Linked DNA regions of Homo sapiens: region 1 is linked to region 2. Evidence: promoter capture Hi-C in human tissues and cell types (Jung and others, 2019). All regions are on one chromosome and are shown on one strand. Each heading gives the region's core, a stretch centred on a gene start or on the middle of the fragment in contact. The rest is flanking DNA. Distances are from core to core; before and after follow the strand shown. Region 1 overlaps TOMM6 (translocase of outer mitochondrial membrane 6). Region 2 holds the start of CUL9 (cullin 9).

Region 1 (6,110 bases), core at 886-3,385, 1.4 Mb before region 2:
CAGGCTGGAGTGCAGTGGCGCGATCTCGGCTCACTGCAAGCTCCGCCTCCCGGGTTCACGCCATTCTCCTGCCTCAGCCTCCCGAGTAGCTGGGACTACGGCCGCCCGCCACCACGCCCTGCTAATTTTTTGTATTTTTAGTAGAGACGGGGTTTCACCGTGTTATCCAGGATGGTCTCGATCTCCTGACCTCGTGATCCGCCCGCCTCGGCCTCCCAAAGTGCTGGGATTACAGGCGTGAGCCACCACGCCCGGCCTTTTTTTTTTTTTTTTTTTTTTTTTTTGAGACGGAGTCTCACTCTGTCGCCCAGGCTGGAGTGCAGAGGCGCAATCTCGGCTCACTGCCCCTTCTGCCTCCCGGGTTCAAGCGATTCTCCTGCCTCAGCCTCCCCAGTAGCTGGGATTACAAGCGCGCGCCACCACGCCCAGCTAATTTTTGTATTTTTAGTAGAGACGGGGTTTCACCATCTTGGGCAGGCTGGTCTCAAACTCCTGACTTCTCGATCCACCCGACTCTGCCTCCCAAAGTGCTGGGATTACAGGCGTGAGCCACCGCGCCCGGCCACATTTATTTCTTTTTGAGACAGCCTCGCTCTGTCGCCCAGGCTGGAGTGTAGTGGCGGACCTCAGCTCACTGCAGCCTCCGCCTCCCGGGTTCAAGCGATTTTCCTGCCTCAGCCTCCCCAGTAGCTGGGATTACAGGCGCGCACCACCACGCCCAGCTAATTTTTGTATTTTTAGTAGAGACGGGGTTTCACCATGTTGGCCAGGCTGGTCTCGAGCTCCTGACTTCGTGATCCGCCTGCCTTGGCCTTCCAAAGTGCTGGGATTACAGGCGTGAACCACCGCGCCCAGCCTGACCTTACACTTACTAGGCACAAAAATGAACTCCAAATTCCCACGTGGGTCTTGAGCAACCTGCCGTCACAACCACGTATCAACGCCTCGGGAAGGTGGTGATGGAAGCCTTTCCCCCCAGTACATTTCGTTAACTGTACAACTGACTCAGTGACCACAGGGTTAATAAAACACATTGTTTTTCCAGGAACTTGATACTAAATTTGGGACTCTTTGCTGCGGGAGTTTGGCTGGCCAGGAACTTGAGTGACATTGACCTCATGGCACCTCAGCCAGGGGTGTAGCCAAGTAGGTAAGCACTGAACTACACCCATGCGTGTCTTAGGAGACCTAGAGACTGGGTGAAGCAATGTTTTCTGTCAAGTATTCATGAAATGTACAAAAGAATGTGATGTAAAACCCTTAACTATTCCTAGTTAAATGTGTTTTCAGATGTTGAAAGGGATTTAAGTATCTCTTACCAGTTTCCCTCCCATACTTTTACAGTTCTAATGCCACCTGTCGTCTTATCATCTGATTGCAGACAAATGGAATCCTGTGCTGAACCCGAATCTTCCAAAAAACAGCCTACAATCTGTGACCACCACAAGATGTGCCCTGATGGCAGCTGAAGTTTGATTCAGATGGGCACTTTTCTTCCCCTTCCCTGCCTAGTTTCCTTTTGTTCCTTGAGTCCACGCAGAATTCCATTCTCTGGTCAGCAGACAGGCTTAAGCTAAAGTATTGCCTCTATTCTGTAAAGTTCTGTACATAGTTCCCAAGCTTCTGCAGGGGGTGATTTTTGCTCTTGTCCTGAGAAATAACAGTGCTGTTTTAAAAAACATTTGAAATAAATACCGCACACAAAGGCAGTCATTTTATTCTTTTAATAAGAAACTTTTGCTTACAAAAACAAGGTGTAAAAAGATTTACAAAAATCATAAAAACATGATTTATATTTCACACTTGAGAGACAAAAACAAGCCCCAAAACATGGATTTTAATGGAGGTGGTTTGCTTCATTTTAAAAGGGAAAAAAAAAAAAGGAAGCTGTAACCATACATTGATGTTAACCTAGCATGAAGTTTATTCTTGAAGAATTTACATTGTTGAGCAATATTAGGGGAAGAAGCCATTTGGTGTTGCATAGCATTTTAGTGCACCAGATGGGTTTTCCAGACACCAGGGAGGCATCATTGCTGGAATAGTGAGGTTTGGTGGCAGAAAGAGGGCAGTGATGTGTAGGGGGAGGCAAAGTGAAGTAAGCCTGGGCAGTGGTCACTAAAGTGACACTGCTGAGGCAGCTGCTTCCTTCAGAAGGAAATGTTTTGTGACCCTAAAATTCATGGTAGTGCTACTGTCCAGGGTTTGGGGGCTCTTTGGAAATGGAGTATGTACGGAACTGGCATGTATAGACTTATATAGCCATAGAAAGAGGTGGATAGAAACAGGTCCACCATGGCAATATTTTTTTCTGGCCAGTTTACTAGGCATTAAAAAAAATACTGCTTTTATGTGCCAAGTCTCTTATGGAACTAGTATGGGATTAAAGGACGTTAATTGGAAAGGAGGGTCAGTATATAAGGACCACAGTGGCCTGTTAAGGATGACAGATGTCTCTAGCAGTTTGTTCACTACTAAAGTTAAACAGGACAAAATAGTCTTTCCTGACCTTGCTGGCATAAATATTAAGAAAATTGTTTGAGAATTAGATTTTTTTAGTATGTATATAAAAACAGCACCATTCTTTGTATAAATCAGATAGATCTTATCTGATAGATGAAGCTAAGACCCTTTGAGTCTACACTGGGTTGACTCTGAGAGGTTTATATCTTATTGGGTATTAAGATAAAGAAGGGTCACATGAGAGCAAAGCTTAGCTTTGAAGCCATCACCTCCCAAATGGTGACCAAGGAGGAAACTTTTAAGCCATAGTATAGATGCTAACCCCCATTTAGACCTGCATCAGATCACTTGCTAAGACAAGAAATACCAGCACCTCCTGTTCTTTATAGGAATGAAACTTAGATCCTTAAAGGCTGCTACCTGATATACTCATGACTGGACAGTTTTGATAAAAACTTCCAAAATTGAAAATCAAAATCCAGCAAGAATTAAGACATGGCAGCTTCCAAAAGCATAATTCAAATTTCATTCAAAATTTACTGTTTTGGCTTCAAGTAAGTGTTTACTGTTGGTTGGGTTTTAAAGCCATAATTATGGTTGAGTAAGGATTCATTTATTTATTTATTAAATTTTTATACATTTTTGAAAAGATTTCAAATCTATGTTTCCCAGGCTGGTCTTGAGCTCCTGGCCTCAAGCAATCCTCCCACCTTGGCCTCCCAAAGTGTTGGGATTACAGGTGCTAGCCAACTGCATCCAGCCAATGTTTCATTTCAACTGGCTTAAATCTTCAAAGTGGTTAAGAATTTAGTAAATAAAACTACTTAATCTACAACTTTCAAAAATTGATGAGTAATCACTAATTCTGTAAATGAAGGAGTTGGACTTCACTATTGCCAAAGCAACATTTTCCCCAAGGAAAGTCAATTTGATATCCTGTCACACTTTTCAGCCCTGGCTAGTTAACACAGTACTATGAAAATCTTTAGCTAGATTTTAAACGAAATATGCCAGCAGAAGTATGGAATGAGTCCACAAAAATGAGTGCCTGCCACAATGCTATAGTAGCTATGGTGTATTTAGTGCAGAGTGTGGGATGAATAAGTACATAGTAATTAAAGTCATAGTCCTGGCCCAACAGAACAGTTACTAAATGTAAGATACAAACTAAACTCACAGTCATATTTAGAAGGCGCTTTTCAGCTTTAGCACTGACTTAAAAAGTCTGAACCACCAGGAAGATGCGTACTTAACTGGTTAAAAAATTAAGTGGCCCTGGAAAGTTTTACCCCAAAGATACAACTTCTTCACTTATTTAGTTCAGTAATGAGGCTGAGGGACCCAATTTTCAAGTGTGCATTTGAGTGGGAAACTTTTAAACACCATATGTTGAAGTTTCATGAGCTCAGTGGAAACCTTAAGGTCAGAGTAAAAGAAACTGGCTGTAAACAGCCCTGCAGTGAAGAGACTGGGTCTTAGCACCTTCCACATTCACTCAGCGCCATCTCAGTCAGCGCCTGCCAGGGAAAGGGCATGGAGAGCTGGGACGGGTGCCTTCTCTTTTGCACCACTCCCTTTGCATATTACACAGTGCACTGGCTTGCCTTACAATCTAAGGTTCACATACAGGGGGTTTTCTATACTGCTTCCGGACATTTTTTGCAAAAGAACATCAGAACCAATGAAGGTACCATTTCAGGAGGAATCATTTTTGTTTGACTTCTGCTATATGTTGCCCAGCATTAGTCATTGTTTTGATAAAGACTAAAAGGCCTTTTCTCAACATTTGTGCTCTCCCAACCACCTGGGAAAGCAACCCTTCCACTCACAAGAGGTAACCTCAGATAGGGATATAGTATTCATTTAAGAAGGGGTAGCCCCCCAGCCTGATTTAAAAAGGCCCAAGTCAATGTATGGAACATGACAAGGGAAGTGAAAAACAATGGAGTACACAGTCTGCCTTGAAAAGCAGCCATTTGATGAACAGTCACAAATACAAAGAATTTGGACATTGTAACATAATTTCAGAACTTGCTGGTAAGAATAATTTGCATTCACACACAAGAGACATGAAATGCTTTTTAAAAGTCTGTGATACCAGATGTCCTTTAAACACTACACAGACCCATTTGCCACTTGAAATGACAAGAAGAAATCCTTTCCCTTAATCTTTTCAATTCCATGCAAACCGTAATTGAGTACAAGGCACCAAATTTTATGAATTGTATAAAATTAGTTCACAAAGCTTTATCAGTAAGTAGAACAAACTCCATTTCTCCCTCCCGGCCAGCCCACCCTCCTCCCACCCACCACCCGCCATCCCCGACCAAGTTTTCATTCTGCACTACTGTCGACCTCTCTAGGGCTTATGCTGGGGCATGCCCCACTGTCAGCCAATCCACCTCATTGGTTCTTCCCTTGTACTTGGATGAAGCTGTAAGCACAGCCAGAGTAGCAAACTCATACAATCATTGACTCTAGAAGCCTTGCCATTAAAAACAAAAATAAACTCTGCTATTGAGTCCATAGGACACATTAACACTTCTACAGTTTCCAATTTTATTCATGACATTTTAAGAGACATCTGGAAATTCTTTTTTTTTTTTTGTTTTTGTTTTTGTTTTTTTTTTAAGACAGAGTCTCGCTCTGTCGCCAGGCTGGAGTGCAGTGGCACGATCTCGGCTCACTGCCCCTTCTGCCTCCTGGGTTCCAGCGATTCTCCTGCCTCAGCCTCCCAAGTAGCTGGGACTACAGGCACGTGCCACCATGCCCAGCTAATTTTTGTATTTTTAGTAGAGACGGAGTTTCACCATGTTGGCCAGGATGATCTCAATCTCTTGACCTTGTGATCCGCCCTCCTCGGCCTCCCAAAGTGCTGGGATTACAGGCATGAGCCACCGCGCCCAGCCTGGAAATTCTTTACAGTGTAGCACTGCCCCCCAACCCTGCCCCATAACTCCGAGACTGAGGGGCTGGATCAAAGCTGGCAAGAGCTCTGTCCACCATTTAATAAGAGCTTCAGTTCTGCCAAGGGCATTCCTAACTATTTTTATACTAGCATGGATGTTCGTCTCAGAGGCAACCACAGATATGAGGGTCAGGCTAGATTGAGGTAAAAAAAAATCCTTTTTGAGGGCCTAGGTGCACTCATCTTGGCTGGCTACAGCAGCAAGTAAACATGCCAGCCAACTAACTACAAAGGGTTCCTGGAATGAGACTCTTAACTACTTGCCCTGGGAGAGAAGCAGGCCCATTAAGGTTCGGTTAGGAGACCTTGGGTTTGATTTGGCAGCATCTAGTCAGTTTTTACCTGGTTCTTATTTTCTTCTCTTTAGAATGATTCAATTTCAGATGCAACTGAGACATTCATCTATACCCAGTACGTAAATAAATTAAAGGCAAAGGGACATTTCCCTCACAATAGCCATTGGCTTATGCAGCAGGGAACTCTTCTTTAATAAAAATCTCCTTAAATACTAACGTCCTAAGTGTCCAGTGCTGCCGCCTCTGGGTACCTGAGGTGTCTGTAACTGCAGTGGGCACCTTTCACAAATGTGTAGCTCAGTGGAGACTCTGATGTTAGTTTCTTTTATTACTTTGATATATGCGTGCTCAGCTAAGTTAAGCACTTATTTCACAAAGTCCTT
Region 2 (6,797 bases), core at 2,526-5,025:
GCTGAATGCCTTCTCCCAGGCACCATCCACCATGCAGGTGTCACACAGCCAGGTCCAGGAGCCAGGTGAGTAGAGGAGCAGGGCTAAGGAAAGGAGGACCGTTTCCTTCTTTATACACACACACACACACACATACACACACATATGCACTGATGCCTACAAATATTTCTACCCAAATACAACACAGACTTGGATGCTCACACACACATTTGGACACCCCACTTGGACACTCACACCCGCATGCACCCTCAGACACACTGGCACCCTTTCCCTTGGGCTCTTACATCTGAGACTGCCCCAGTCACTTGTGCATTTGACACCACTCCTCCAATATCTGGAAGTTTCAACAAACAATTTGAGTATCTCCTGTGGTTTTCCAATGTAGGTGGCGTCCCCCAGGTGTTCCTGACAGCATCATCTGGGACAGTGCAGATCCCTGTTTCAGCAGTTCAGCTCCACCAGGTAGGTAGGGATATCTTTCACCCCATCCCAGATAGCCACTTCTTTGTCTTGACCTTAGGGGATCCTGTTACCAGTTCATCAAAGCCAAAATCCCTAGCCTGGAAGCCCATCTGCTTTTCTGCTCAGGCCTGTGGTTGGCAGGCAGGGAAGCCAGGGGAGCCTGAACTGGCTGGCCAGTCCCTGCCCCTCCTCATACATCCCCTTCCCTCCAGATGGCTGTGATAGGGCAGCAGGCCGGGAGCAGCAGCAACCTCACCGAGCTACAGGTGGTGAACCTGGACACCGCCCACAGCACCAAGAGTGAATGATCCGCCCGCCGCCCTGGACAGATGGCCCAAGGGATGGCACCACTTATTTATTGTTGCCTTTTCACGTTTTCTTTACACACACGTTGACGGGCCGCAGGAGGGAGGCGGGGAGGAGGAACGGGCAGCCACAGGACTGAGCCCTCTCACTCCAGCCAAAGAAATGGGCCTGCCTGCCTCCACCCGTCCTCCCTCAGCCTCCCCTTCTTCCCGCCCCACCTCCCATTTCTGTTGCTGGAGGGGCTGTCCTCCTTCCTGGGACCCCCTCGCCAGCTTGGCTCGATGTTTGCCATGAGTATTAGCTTACCCAATGGGACCGTGCCCCACCTCCCCACACACAGGCCTTCTGTGGGGCTGGGCACCGTGTCCTCCTCTGAGGAAGCAGTTGGGGCCCTCTTGCCAGCCTCCTTGCTGACCCCAGGTCAGCCCTGTGTCTGTCACAGGCTGGGTCAAAAGAGCCCTGGCTCTGCCCCTCAGGGGGCCAGCTGGGGAGATGGGGGCTTCTTCCTCACACTGCTGTCCTCTCCCCCTTCAGCTCCTGAGTAGCTGGGCCTGTGCACTGGGCAGGTTCCTGGGGCCGCCTGCCCTGCCTTGCCGCTCCCCTTGGACCTCCAGGGGCTCCTGGGTTGGAGGGAACCACCAGCGTTCCCTTCTCCCCCTTGTCTTCCCCCCTCTCCTCCCAGCTGCTTTACTTAAAGTTGATTTTGAACTTTTTATTTGAGGAGACGAAGTGAAAACAAATCTATAAATATATATTTTTAAAATATTTAACTTTTTTTTATGGCGTTTTTCTCGTCCCCCTCCCTGCCCAAACTCCCCTTCCCTGGGGAGCCCTCAGGCTCCCCAGAACTGGCTGGGCCCCTGGGGACAGAGCCACCCCATGAGCTCGGGGTCCACCAGTGTGTGGGGGAGATTCTGGGTTTGCCCAGTCCTGGGTTGTTTCCAGGAGAAAGCCGGGGGAGGGGCCCTCAGGCCATTCCCCAACGGGGTGGGGAGGGTGACCCACAGCTCTGGGCCTCTTTTTGCCCTTTAGGGCTGTTGCTAGGGAGAGGGAAGAGGGAGACCAAATGTCGGGGTTGGGGTGGGAGGGCGTCAGGCAGAGGCAACTGACTTCATTTGTGCCACACGCATGGGCATTGCAGCCTTGCGCTGTCCCAGGCATGCAGCTGCCTGGGGCCCAAGTTGCAGTGAGCAGGGTGGGGTCTGGGAGGGGGTGAGAGGCAGGAATGGGGGTCAGAAGAAGTGGGAGCAGCTTCTTGGGCTGAGTGCAGCCAAAGGGGAGCCAGAAATGGGCAGTTCTCCCAGGGAGTGAGCAGCTACTGTAACTTTTTTAAATTAAGACAAAAAGCCTTGAAGAAAATGACTTTATTTTTCTAAGTGTAACCTCAGTATTTATGTAATTTGTACAGGGGCCATGCCCCACCCCCCTCCTCCCCCTTTGGGGTAGACCTTGAGGGTGGGCCAGCATAGGGGGGAGGGTCTTTTACCCTGTGTCAGAGCCTACCTTCACCACCTATATCCAGAAGGGGAGCTTTTTCAGAAACAGGGCAGCAGTGGGGTGAAATTTTCTTAACCCCTAAGACTGCCTTCAGTAGGAACAAGCTGGCTTCTGTGATTAGGTGAAGGGATGGGGGAAGATTTTATGCACAGCCTAGTTATCAAGGGGATGATTTGCCGACATGTTTGAGAACCCCCTAACCTCTAACCCTCATTGCTGTCTTGCCCCAGTTTGGGGTGCCAAGATGGAAGTCACCTTTCTGGGCTTTCTCCTGGAGATAGCTGGGGCTTATGGGTGGCTTTCAAGGCTGGGGCATGGCAAATCAGGGGCCAGAGAGCAGGGGAGCTTGGGACTCAGGTCTGTAACTGCCCAGCCCCTTTTCTCTGCTCTTGTTTCACTCCACCATCACTCACTCACTCCCCACTCCCCCACCCATGGGGAGGAGACCTTTGATGAATTCTTCCTCTCCTTCCCACAAAAGACAGACCCAGTGAGTGAATCAGGCAAAGTGCTTATAATGTGTGTTGTGTGAGCGTGGCCTTGGGAGGACATGCGTGTGTCAGGGATGAGTTGAGGTGATATTTTTATGTGCAGCGACCCTTGGTGTTTCCCTTCCTCGGTGGCTCTGGGGTATGTGTGTGTGGGTGTGTGCGCCTGAGTGAGTGTGTGTGCTTGAATGTGAGTGTGTATGTCAGTGGTTTCTACTTCCCCTGGGATGCTGACCCAGGAATAGTGGACATGGTCACAGTCCTATGTACAGAGCTTTCTTTTGTATTAAAAAAAAATACTCTTTCAATAAATGTATCATTTTTGTGCACAGACTGTGGGGTCTTTGGTTCTGTTTTTCTACTTAGGGAGGGATGGGGGTATGAACGCGAGGCAAACTCCTAAAATTGCTGCTCTGAGTAGCGATCCGGGCTGCTTGATGAGAACGGTAATGCTAAGGTGTGCTTTGGGCTGTTTAATTCTATACGATTTAATTTAAGGAAAGTTTTGCGGGGCCGAGGACCTTCTCCCTGTGCGTGGCTTCGCTAGGTGTTAAGGCCAACGCAGAGGAGCAAATTTTAATTAACAGGAAAAGTGACACAACTAATCCAAAGCATTGCTGAAGGGTTTGGGAAACTCATGGGCACCTGACCTACTGAAAAGTCAAAAAGGGCAGCCTTAAGGTGGGAATGTGGGTTACCATGTTTCGTCAGCATGATCGCTGTGATGGGAGAGGGAGGATTAGGAGGGCCGACCCAGTGAAGAGGAGGGGGCTTCACAGTTGACTGGATGGAAACGGCTTCTTCCTGCTGCTGAGAGAGGAGCAACGTGACCTCGATCCCAGGCTCCTCCGGTAGCGCGCCCCCACGCCCCTCTTCCAGTGCAGCCGCCCGCGGTAGCACGCATGCTCCACTCGCGCGCTGTTCCGCCACGCTCGGCGTGGGCCGCGGTGGGACCCGTAGGTGCCCGGCCGTGCGTGCACTCGCCGTGTGACCCGGAAGGGAGCTCTGAGGAGGCGGGGCCAGGACGGCGGGACCGGCCGCTGGGTCCCAGCGAGGGCTGAGCCGGGCGGTGGGAGGTGAGAGGAGAGTTCTGCGCCGACCCAATCCCTCCCCTTCTCCTGTCCCCTCCCCGGTCCTTTAGCCACTGTCCATGGGGCTGACGAAGGGAACCAGGTCTTGCTCTCTGAGATTCACTGGATCTTTTCAGCTTTTTTGGACCGCGCCCCCAACCATCCTTCCCCCTCCCCCCAAACCCGTTCCCTCTGCGGTGCTGGCCTCCTCCACCTCCCCACGGCTCTGCAAGCTTGGGCTTGACCTTGCTATCTGCTGGTCTCATCCATGCGTCCAGAGCTCACCCCCACACCTCAGTTTATTGTTGCTCTTCTAGGCCGACGTTACACCTCCTACCTCCTCCTATCCGATTCTTTTACTTCCCCCTGCTGCTAATCAGTTGCCCGCTGGCACATCGCTGGCTACCATCCAGGCTTGCCCCCCATCCTAAGTGGACCCCTACCTCCATTGAGGTCCACATCCATCTTTCTCCCTCCTCTTCACCTCTACTCTCATCTTCTGTCCCTGTACCCCAACATGACCCCTGCCCTGACCACTATATCTTCATCTGGGTTTACCTTCTTCCATTCTTATTCTCACTATTCCCTGTTGCCCCTGCACTGCTTCATATCACGCATATCTTTCCTGATTATTCCACTCCCATTTATAATCGGTCTTAATAACTTTGCATTTATTTGATGACTCCCCTACCTTCTCCATCTAAGAATAATAACAGATTATGTTTACTGAACACTCTTTATGTGCTAGATGCTGTTCCAAGTGCTTTACATACATGATCCTACTAAATTCATGAAGTAACTATGAATATTACTACCATCTTGCAGAAGAGGAAACAAGCTCAGAGGTTAAGTAACTTGTTCCAAACTATGCAGACAGTGAGACAGAAAGCCAGAATTCAGAGTCACATTTATCTGATACTGAAGTCTCTGAATATTGCTTCTCTCCTGACCTCATTTCCTACCTTTAACCCCATGATTACCACCTCTATCTTATCTACTTAACTTACTTAAATCCTTACCATACATGCAGTATAAGGGCAGGGTGGGACCTGGTCATCTTTCCCATAATTTTATCTGGTCCCTAGGGCCCTCCCCCTTTCACAAGACTCGAATATACTTTTCCTATCCAGTCATTTGCCCCAACATCCCAGCCTTTTGTCATCTCCATTCTCTATATCTGCCATGGCCCACCCTTTACATCCACCTTGCAGCTTTACTCTGTCATTTATGCTCCCTGTCCTGCCCCTCCGCTATCCTACTTTTCCTCACATGTTCTGATCCCACTGCCTCACATGCTGCTGTCCTTCCTGTCCACCCATGTCATTCTTCTAAGTCCTAATCTGTAACCCTCAGCCACCCTGCTATCCTGCCTAAACTGTCTTGCTTAACTGTCACTCTGTTTATTGTTACTTTGCCTATTACTGTTTTAATTCTCTTTTTGTAAACTCCCCTTCCTTCCTTTCTTCCTTCCTTCCTTCCTTCCTTCCTTCCTTCCTCTCTCTCTCTTTCTTTCTTTTTTTCTTTTTTTTGACAGAATCTCACTCTGTTGCCCAGGCTGGAGTACAGTGGCGCGGTCTTGGCTCACTGCAACCTCCGCCTCCTGGGTTCAAGTGATTCTCCTGCCTCAGCCTCCTGAGTAGCTGGGACTACGGGCATGTGCCACCACACCTGGCTAATTTTTGTATTTTTAGTAGAGACGGGGTTTCACTATGTTGACCAGGCTGGACTTGAATTCCTGACCTCGTGATCTGCCCACCTTGGCCTCCTAAAGTGCTGGGATTACAGGCGTGAGCCACTGGGCGCAGCCAACTCTTCCATTTCTTAAACCCCTTCTTCATCCCCTCTCTGTCTTCACTCCATTCTCCTTCTGTTATAAATCCCAAAGTATGTTCAGCTATTTATTCCATCCTATTTTTTGCCTTTTCTGTTTGGCCTCCTAAATTCTACCATGCAGCCTACCGATCACCACCCACCTTCTCTGTGTCTCAAGATTCCACCCCCTCCATGTATTTTTTTTCTTTTCTCATACTGCCTTATCTTTCTCCTTGTGTATCCCAGGAGGTCAGGATGGTGGGGGAACGGCATGCTGGGGACCTCATGGTGCCCTTAGGGCCTCGGCTGCAGGCATATCCTGAAGAACTCATTCGACAGAGGCCTGGGCATGACGGGCATCCTGAATACCTGATCCGATGGAGTGTCCTGAAGTGTGGGGAAGTGGGCAAAGTGGGTGTGGAAGAAGGCAAAGCAGAGCACATCCTCATGTGGCTGTCGGCTCCTGAGGTCTACGCCAACTGCCCTGGGCTGTTAGGTGAGCGGGCACTATCTAAGGGACTTCAGCACGAACCAGCTGGGGTTTCAGGAAGCTTTCCTCGAGATCCAGGAGGCCTGGATGAAGTGGCAATGGGAGAGATGGAGGCTGATGTTCAGGCGCTGGTACGCAGGGCGGCCAGGCAGCTGGCAGAAAGTGGGACCCCAAGCCTCACGGCCGCTGTGCTTCACACCATCCACGTGCTCAGTGCCTACGCCAGCATCGGGCCCCTCACTGGTGTCTTCAGGGAGACAGGAGCCCTGGACCTGCTCATGCACATGTTATGCAATCCTGAGCCTCAGATCCGCCGGAGTGCAGGCAAAATGCTGCAGGCTCTGGCAGCCCACGATGCTGGTAAGAGACAGCCAGGGAAGAAGGAAAGGAATGGAGAAAATGGGGCCACAGGGAATAAGAAAGAGGAGAGATTTCCTAGCTCTGTAAGAACACCTAGTATTTGGTGAATATCAATTTGATGCAAAGGAAAAAATATAGATTAATAGGCTATTTCAGGTATATAAAGAGGCTAAAATGATAGCCTCTGGCTTATCTGTTCATTCTCAGTGCATTGACCAGAGAAGAGAATAGGACTTATCTGTATTTTTGAAACTGGATTGAGATTTATTAGTTGGTTTTGAAATCAATTTGGTGGGTTACAACCAACATTTT

What was found. Contacts are between HindIII fragments. The study calls those that stand out against the background at their distance.
Region 1: a fragment that was not itself captured here is called in contact with the fragment with the promoter of CUL9 in region 2 in 1 of the 25 tissues and cell types used here (spleen).

The regions. Positions count from the first base shown.
Region 1 is chr6:41,788,187-41,794,296 of GRCh38, forward strand. It overlaps TOMM6 (translocase of outer mitochondrial membrane 6), which reads left to right. Exons shown (of 3, transcript NM_001382294.1): 2 at 1,046-1,150; 3 at 1,382-1,709. The coding sequence ends at 1,142. It overlaps USP49 (ubiquitin specific peptidase 49), which reads right to left. Exons shown (of 8, transcript NM_001286554.2): 8 at 1,710-6,110. Among named protein-coding and RNA genes, the nearest start is that of TOMM6, 3.5 kb to the left of the region's middle. RefSeq lists an enhancer at 1-195. The HindIII fragment of the contact is 3,149 bases long and covers 562-3,710 here.
Region 2 is chr6:43,178,421-43,185,217 of GRCh38, forward strand. CUL9 (cullin 9) reads left to right here and starts at 3,776. Exons shown (of 41, transcript NM_015089.4): 1 at 3,776-3,829; 2 at 5,882-6,485. The coding sequence starts at 5,891. SRF (serum response factor) reads left to right here. Exons shown (of 7, transcript NM_003131.4): 5 at 1-65; 6 at 386-462; 7 at 675-3,086. The coding sequence ends at 770. RefSeq lists enhancers at 1-444, 3,447-3,516 and silencers at 3,767-3,906, 3,927-3,976. The HindIII fragment of the contact is 4,480 bases long and covers 642-5,121 here.